Linked DNA regions of Homo sapiens: region 2 is linked to region 1. Evidence: promoter capture Hi-C in 16 types of primary human blood cells and fetal thymus (Javierre and others, 2016). All regions are on one chromosome and are shown on one strand. The core of a region is centred on a gene start or on the middle of the fragment in contact, and the rest is flanking DNA. Distances in the headings are between cores, read along the strand shown.

Region 1 (3,576 bases), core at 698-3,197:
CTAACTTATCTTATTTAAACTTCCTCCAATATGGCTTCTGTGTATTAACTTTACCCAATCAGTTCTCACTAAGGGTGCCAATGCCATCTATTTCCCAATTAGTAGGCAGTTTCAAGCCACACCTTGGGCAAATCGACTGAATCCTCTTCTCGGCACATTTATTTCCTTTTGTTTGTTTGTTATTTTGAGATGGGGTCACTCTCCCTCTGTCTCCCAGGCTCGAGTACAGTATTGTGATCATGGCTCACTGCAGCCTTGAACTCCTGGGCTGAAGCATTTATCTTCCTAAATACACTTTCATTATCTTTCTCTGCTGTTGCCTTCTAATGTACAGCCATTCCTTTGTGGCTGTGGATGTTTCCTTTGCGGCTTTTCTCTCCCCTCCCTTTAAAAGCGAAAGGTCCTCAGAATCATGTTTAAAACTTTTTCTCTCTCTACACTCTCTCCCAACACCATGACCTTCATTTCTTGGCTTTCTCTTATCACATATAAACCCCCAGCAATCGCATTCCTTGCAAATTGCAAACTTATATATCTAACTGGCAATGGACATTTTCTAATAGATGTATACTAGTCAATTTAAAGAGAATGTCTCTGTCTTATTTTTATTTCCTCACATGCCTCAATCTACCTTCTGCAGAGAGAAATCATCGGTTGTTCCTTCTTCTCTTCATACCATTTACCATAACTGATAATTAAGTATGATTACCATTTTTAGTTTTTTTCATACAAAAATCAAATACACAAGAGAGCAGAATTGTATTTGTTAGGTTCACCTTGTTATCTTGAGTACAACATACAACCTGGTTTACAGAAAGTTTATTTTTACTTATATCTTGAATATAATATTGATGGATAAATGAAGTGTACCAGTTATTCTGTAATCAGGTTGCACAATTAGGCTTGGAATTTCATTTTAAAGAATAAACAAGTACAAAAGTTTCCATAGCAAAAGTTCAATGAACAACACAAAATAAATTTACCAAATACAAAGAACATATTTTATTACATTAACCACTGTGCAAAGGTGCACATGACATAATATGAACAAAAATAAGTTGTTTTATAAATAGTTAAATAAATAATATTTTAAAAATATTTAAATAGATAATGGATCAGTCAGCATGGTCCTCTGTAAGGGACTAGTGCCTTAAGAGCTGAATACAATGTTGATTAATACTCCTAAAAACATTTGAAAAGATTTAAATCGTGTCATGGTCATAGCAGAAACATGAGTCTTTGAAATGGCAGATCATAAAAAGGTGAGCTGGCATACGAATCAATGAAAATCATTTCCATGTTGAACCAGTTTTCATTCCTTACTTCTTAAACTTTCTTGCAAGTTTGTTGACAAAGAAAAAGATCTCATGATTTCTGCTCTGACAACCTCCCAGGCACAAGGGCTGTATTTCTTCTCTTTCAGATAGAGAGTGATTCTTTGGAAGTATTTCCTCACAGCCAGAATGGAGTCCTCCTTCATCAGGGGAGTCTCTGTCACCCCCACCCCCTGTATCACACAGGCTTCCAGGTCATTCAGCTGCTGGTAGAGTTCAGTGTAGAATTTGTCTAGGAGGGTCTCATCCCAAGCAGCAGATGAGTCCTTTGTGCTGAAGAGATTGAAGATCTGCTGGATCATCTCATGGAGGACAGGGATGGTTTCAGCCTTTTGGAACTGGTTGCCAAACTCCTCCTGGGGAAATCCAAAGTCATGTCTGTCCTTCAAGCAGGAGAAAAGAGAGATTCTCCTCATCTGTGCCAGGAGCATCAAGGTCCTCCTGCTACCCAGGCTGTGGGTTTGAGGCAGATCACAGCCCACAGAGCAGCTTGACTTGCAGCTGAGCACCAGGAGGGCCACCAGTAAAGCAAAGGTCAAGGCCATTGTAGATGTTGCAGATGCTGCTAGACTGGTTGAAATGGGTGAGCCTAAACCTTAGGCTCCAGGTTCTCTGAAGACCTTGCTTTGTGCCTAGCCTTAAATAGGGAACATACTCGTTTACATTTTCCAAATGCCCCTGTGTTACTTTCTACTTCTCTTTTTGCTTTCTTTATGCACTCTTTACATGGGTTTTCAGCTGTTTTTCTCACCACATTTTTTTCATTATTGTTTCCTTCCTCTTTTACCCCAGAGCCTTTTTAGAAACTTTTTTCTGATTGAATCTCCCATTATATTTTAATCACATATACACTGTGTATCTATTTACATATCCTATGTATATCTCTATTCTATACATTAAATTAAAAAGTATAAAGTTAATGTTTTATTATTGCAAAGAATGATAAAACAATTAAAAATTAAATTAAAAGGCTATTGACATTTTACTTAACTTGATAACTATATTCTTAGAGCAACTTTTTTGAAAATAGATTTTTGTGGGTACATAAGAGGCGTCTGTGTTTATGGAATAAGTGAAATATTTTTATATAGGCAGACAATTCATAATAATCACAGCAGGGTGAATGGAGTATCCAATGCTTCAAACATTTATCATTTCTCTCTGCTACATACATCCCATTTATACTATTTTAGTTATTTTATAATATATAATAAATTATCATTAACAGTAGTCATCCTATTGTGCTATCGAATACTAAATCATATTCATTTTTTCTAACTATATTTTTGTGCCCGTTAGCCATCTCCATTTTCCCCCATATGATCCAGCAATCCCACTACTGGGTATTTATCCAAAGGAAATGAAATCAGTATGTCAACAAAATATTTACACTCCCATGTTTATTGCAGCACTATTCACAATAGCTAAGATTTGGAAGCAACTTAGGTGTCTAACAGATGAATGGATAAAGAAAATATGGCACTTATACACAATGGAGTACTACTTAGCCATAAAAAAGAATGAGATCCTGTCATTTGCAAGAACATGGATGGAGCTGGAGGACATTATGTTCATTGGACAACATTAAACCCATTGATCTGCACATACCTAACCACACTTGAATCTCTAGGACAAATTCCACTTGGTCATGATGAATGATTGTTTTAATGTGTTCTTGAATTCAGTTTGCTAATTTGTTGTTGAGGATTTCTGCATCAATGTTCATCAGAGATATTGGCCTACAGTTTTCTTTCTTTTTAATGTGTCTTTCTCTGGTTTTATATGTGATTAAAATATAATGGGAGATTCAATCAGAAAAAACACTGGCCTCATAGAATACATTTGGAAAGATTCTGTCCACCTCTATTTTTTTAATAATTTGAGTTGGATTGGTATTAGTTTTTTAAATATTTGGCAAAATTCATCAGTGAAGCCATCAGATCCTGAGTTCTTTTCTGGGATACTTTTTAGTATGGCTTCTGTCTCATTACTTGTTATTGGCCTGTTCACATTTTGTATTTCTTCATGGTTCCATGAAGAAATACAAAAACCATGAAGAAATACAAGAATGGTTCTAGAAACAATTCTTGTATTTCTTCATGGTACTATGAAAAAATACAAAACCTGAACAGACCAGTATGTTGTATGTTTCTAGGAATTATCTATTTTGTTCAGGTTTTCCAATTTATTAGCATATAGTTTCATAGTATCTTCTAATGATCCTTTAATTTTTTGTGGTATT
Region 2 (3,258 bases), core at 620-3,119, 97 kb after region 1:
AGAATTTATAGATGAAAGGCTACATGCATCTGTAATAGATATCACCTAATTGCCTCCATAGTGGTTGTACTATAAATGGCATGCATGCTATTTAATTTGTATTTCTATTATCATGAGTGAGATTGAACCTCTTTTAATGTAGTTTTTTTTCTCTGCAAACTGTTCATGTCCTTTCACCATATTTCTATTGTGTCTCCTGTAATGTAAATATTCACTGTGTAATAATATTTTCAAATCTTAAAATGCAAATTATTCCCAATATTTCTCATTGTCTCTAGCAATTTCTGGCAAATAAGCAAATCATTGCAATGGAGTTCTATGTTAAGGAAAGTATTTTTACATTAGTGGCATATTTTATTGTATCTACCCAGCCAGCCTGTATGAAAATACACCCATTTGAAGAATCAACCATATTAATGAATTTATTTTGACATACAAACAATTTAAAATGGATAGAATATATAAAGCCACATTACAAAATAAAAACAATTGTGGTCAATATGCACAATCTTAAAACACAGATAAATATATATATACACAAAATCAAAGCAATGTGATTGTACTATAAATTGTATTACCACTCTATGAAGAATCATGTCTGGAGAAGTCCTCTAGTCCCTCCACCTACCTCGGGCTTCTAAACTCTGTAGTAAGCTCTTGCTTCATGTCGTTCAAGGGTCTTCCTTGTTTGCTCAGTTTTTCTGTGAGACTGAACACAAAGAACAGACATCGGCTGATTTCTACTTGGACAATGGCCCAGGCACAGGTGCTGTAGTCCTGGTTTTCCAGGTAATCATGGATCCTTCGGAAGTACATTTTAACTTGTAATCTAAGGTTATCACTACCCAAAGTACCACTTAGCTTCTCTGCTTCCAGTCCCATGAGTGCTTCTAGGTATTCTAGCTGTTGATGAAGTTGAATGAGGAATTTCTCCGTGTGGTTTTCCTCCCAACCATCCAGAGAAATATTTGCCCTGAAGAGGCTGAAGATCTGCTGAAGCATCTCATGGAGAATGGCCAGAGTGTGTCCTTTTTGGTACTGCTGAGGACTCAAAGACTTCTGAGGAAGCAGAAAGTTTTTCCTGTGTGGTAGACACTGCTGAATTGACAAGGTTTGCAACTTATTCAAGAGTTTTAAACTTTCTTGATTCACTTGTCTTTGCTGGAAGATAATCAGTTTCAAATCTAGAGAGAAGATAGTGGTAGAGGCCAGCAGCACCAACACAGTTCCAAAGAAGTGCTTGATAATCATGGTGAAGGTCAAATATGCTACTTATCCCTGCATAGACTTAGGGAAATTCCAGCTCTAGTGAATGTTTGCCTTTCATGCATCTCAGATTATTTTGGAGAGTGTTCTCTTTTGTTGCTTTCGTTTTCTAATGTCATTTCTCCAAGTTTACACATTAGATTTTCAGGTTCCCTTTTCATGGTGTTCAGAGTACATTTTCTCCATTTCCCTATTGTGTTGGCTATTTTGAGGAAGTACCAAAATAACTTATTCATTGTATGCTTTCCTTGAGGCAATTACAGACTAGTCATCCAACATAATCTTTTATTATTCTATTCATTATATACAAAGTTTCACTGAACACAATGTGCTTTCTAAATATTTAGTCAAGCTTATTAAAGTTCTTTTATTGAGATTACGTTTTTTTCAGTAATAGTCTTTCATGGAGTAAAACTTACCAAAGGCTTATCAGCACCTATAAAGAATTCAGGGGCAAAACTTAAAATACCTACAAACTACTAAATTTAAAACCTCAATTAGAACTGTAAATTGTCACAAATGCTTGAGCAAATAATTAATTTTAAAACATATATCAGCAATCTTAAATTATTTTATATCTTATCCTATCAGTTTAATATCTAAGATTCTAGCCTATAGAAGCAATGCAAAAAAATTAGCAAAAGAAGAGTGTTATAATATTATTGCAAAGCAGAATATTAGAAACAACCTATAGGTTCAACGACAGGTGAATGATTACATATATGTTGGTACAGCCATATAATTAAATGATATATATCCATTATAGATGACAAAATTATATGTGAAGAGAGATTGGGGGCATTTGGTTAGCGTATATTCCCTAGAATAGTGATAGCTCTGGTAAACTAATGTGAACATCTCTACATTAACAATGTCCTTTGAATTACAAATACCCAGTTCCATATTCTAAGTTCCTCTTGAATAAGCCCCCAATATACCTTTCCAATCTTATCCCACTGTTGCTCTAAATATAGTGTGAAGGAATCTGAACTCCAGATAAAGTAAGTGATTTAGTATTCCCTTAATACAGCTAGCACTTGTGTGTGTGTGTGTTTATTGATGATGCTTTCTCTGAAACATCAACTGTTGCCTCCTTTACCTCAAGAACCTTTCTGTGCAAGGACTAAAGACTACTTGTCCTTTAAGGCCCAGATCTCCCCCAAGGAGCCATAATCTTCTGGATCCCCACAACACTTTGTACCTACCTTATTTAAGACACCTTTCTTGTTCTGTCTTATACTTGACTATGTACTTACATGATTAAAAGTCTCTTCAGAGTGTGAAATAAACACTGATTACTGATTTCTTTGCTGTCTATACAACTATAGTAGTTGCTTAATAAATATGTGTTGACTTGGAATAAATTAATATGTTCTACACAAAGTAATACAAGATGTTGAGTCTTATCTTTAATCATTTCTCTGCAGGCAGCTGGGTGAATCCCTAAATGTCAAAAACAGGCACTCTGTAAACATGTATGGTCTCATTATATACCAGCTCAGCTGTATGTTTGGTCACTTAGTCTAGTATTAATAAGTTGAAATAAACTCAGTCAGCATGCTCCACAGAGGGTCTTTTCCCTCCCTATCTGAGAGAGAGAGAGAGAGAGAGAGAGAGAGAGAAAGAGAAAGAGAGAGAAAAGACATATGATAATATATAATATACGAAAGGAATAACACTTGTTTCATAACATTATGCTCAATCTATCTGGAAAGTAGAATTTTGACTAGTCTCAAAAAATCTTTAAATATTTAATGCTGAGCTTCGGGAAAACAATATAAAAATAAATTAAGAATATCAGAAGTTACTCCATCTAATAACAACGAGCTCTGATCTATAAGGCTTTCTCATCATTTTCATTCAATTGACAAAAATGATCTAAATGTTGTTTAATTTCCAAATGATCAGGGATTTTCCAGATGCCTTTCTGTTACTGATTTCATATTTGAATCTGTTGTGGTTAAAGAATGTAGTTTAAATTTATTGAGACTT

The links. Contacts are between HindIII fragments. The CHiCAGO score rates a contact against its expected background, and 5 or more counts as called.
Region 2: a contact is called between the fragment with the promoter of IFNE here and the fragment with the promoter of IFNA2 in region 1, in 11 of 17 cell types (total B cells, neutrophils, monocytes and 8 more). The highest score is 12.5, in total B cells.

Annotation. Positions count from the first base shown.
Region 1 is chr9:21,383,451-21,387,026 of GRCh38, forward strand. IFNA2 (interferon alpha 2) reads right to left here and starts at 1,948. Exons shown (of 1, transcript NM_000605.4): 1 at 805-1,948. The coding sequence starts at 1,879. The coding sequence ends at 1,313. The HindIII fragment of the contact is 9,842 bases long and covers 1-3,576 here.
Region 2 is chr9:21,480,444-21,483,701 of GRCh38, forward strand. It overlaps IFNE (interferon epsilon), which reads right to left and starts at 1,870. Exons shown (of 1, transcript NM_176891.5): 1 at 396-1,870. The coding sequence starts at 1,251. The coding sequence ends at 625. The region is part of intron 1 of MIR31HG (MIR31 host gene); the gene reads right to left. The HindIII fragment of the contact is 2,296 bases long and covers 1,617-3,258 here.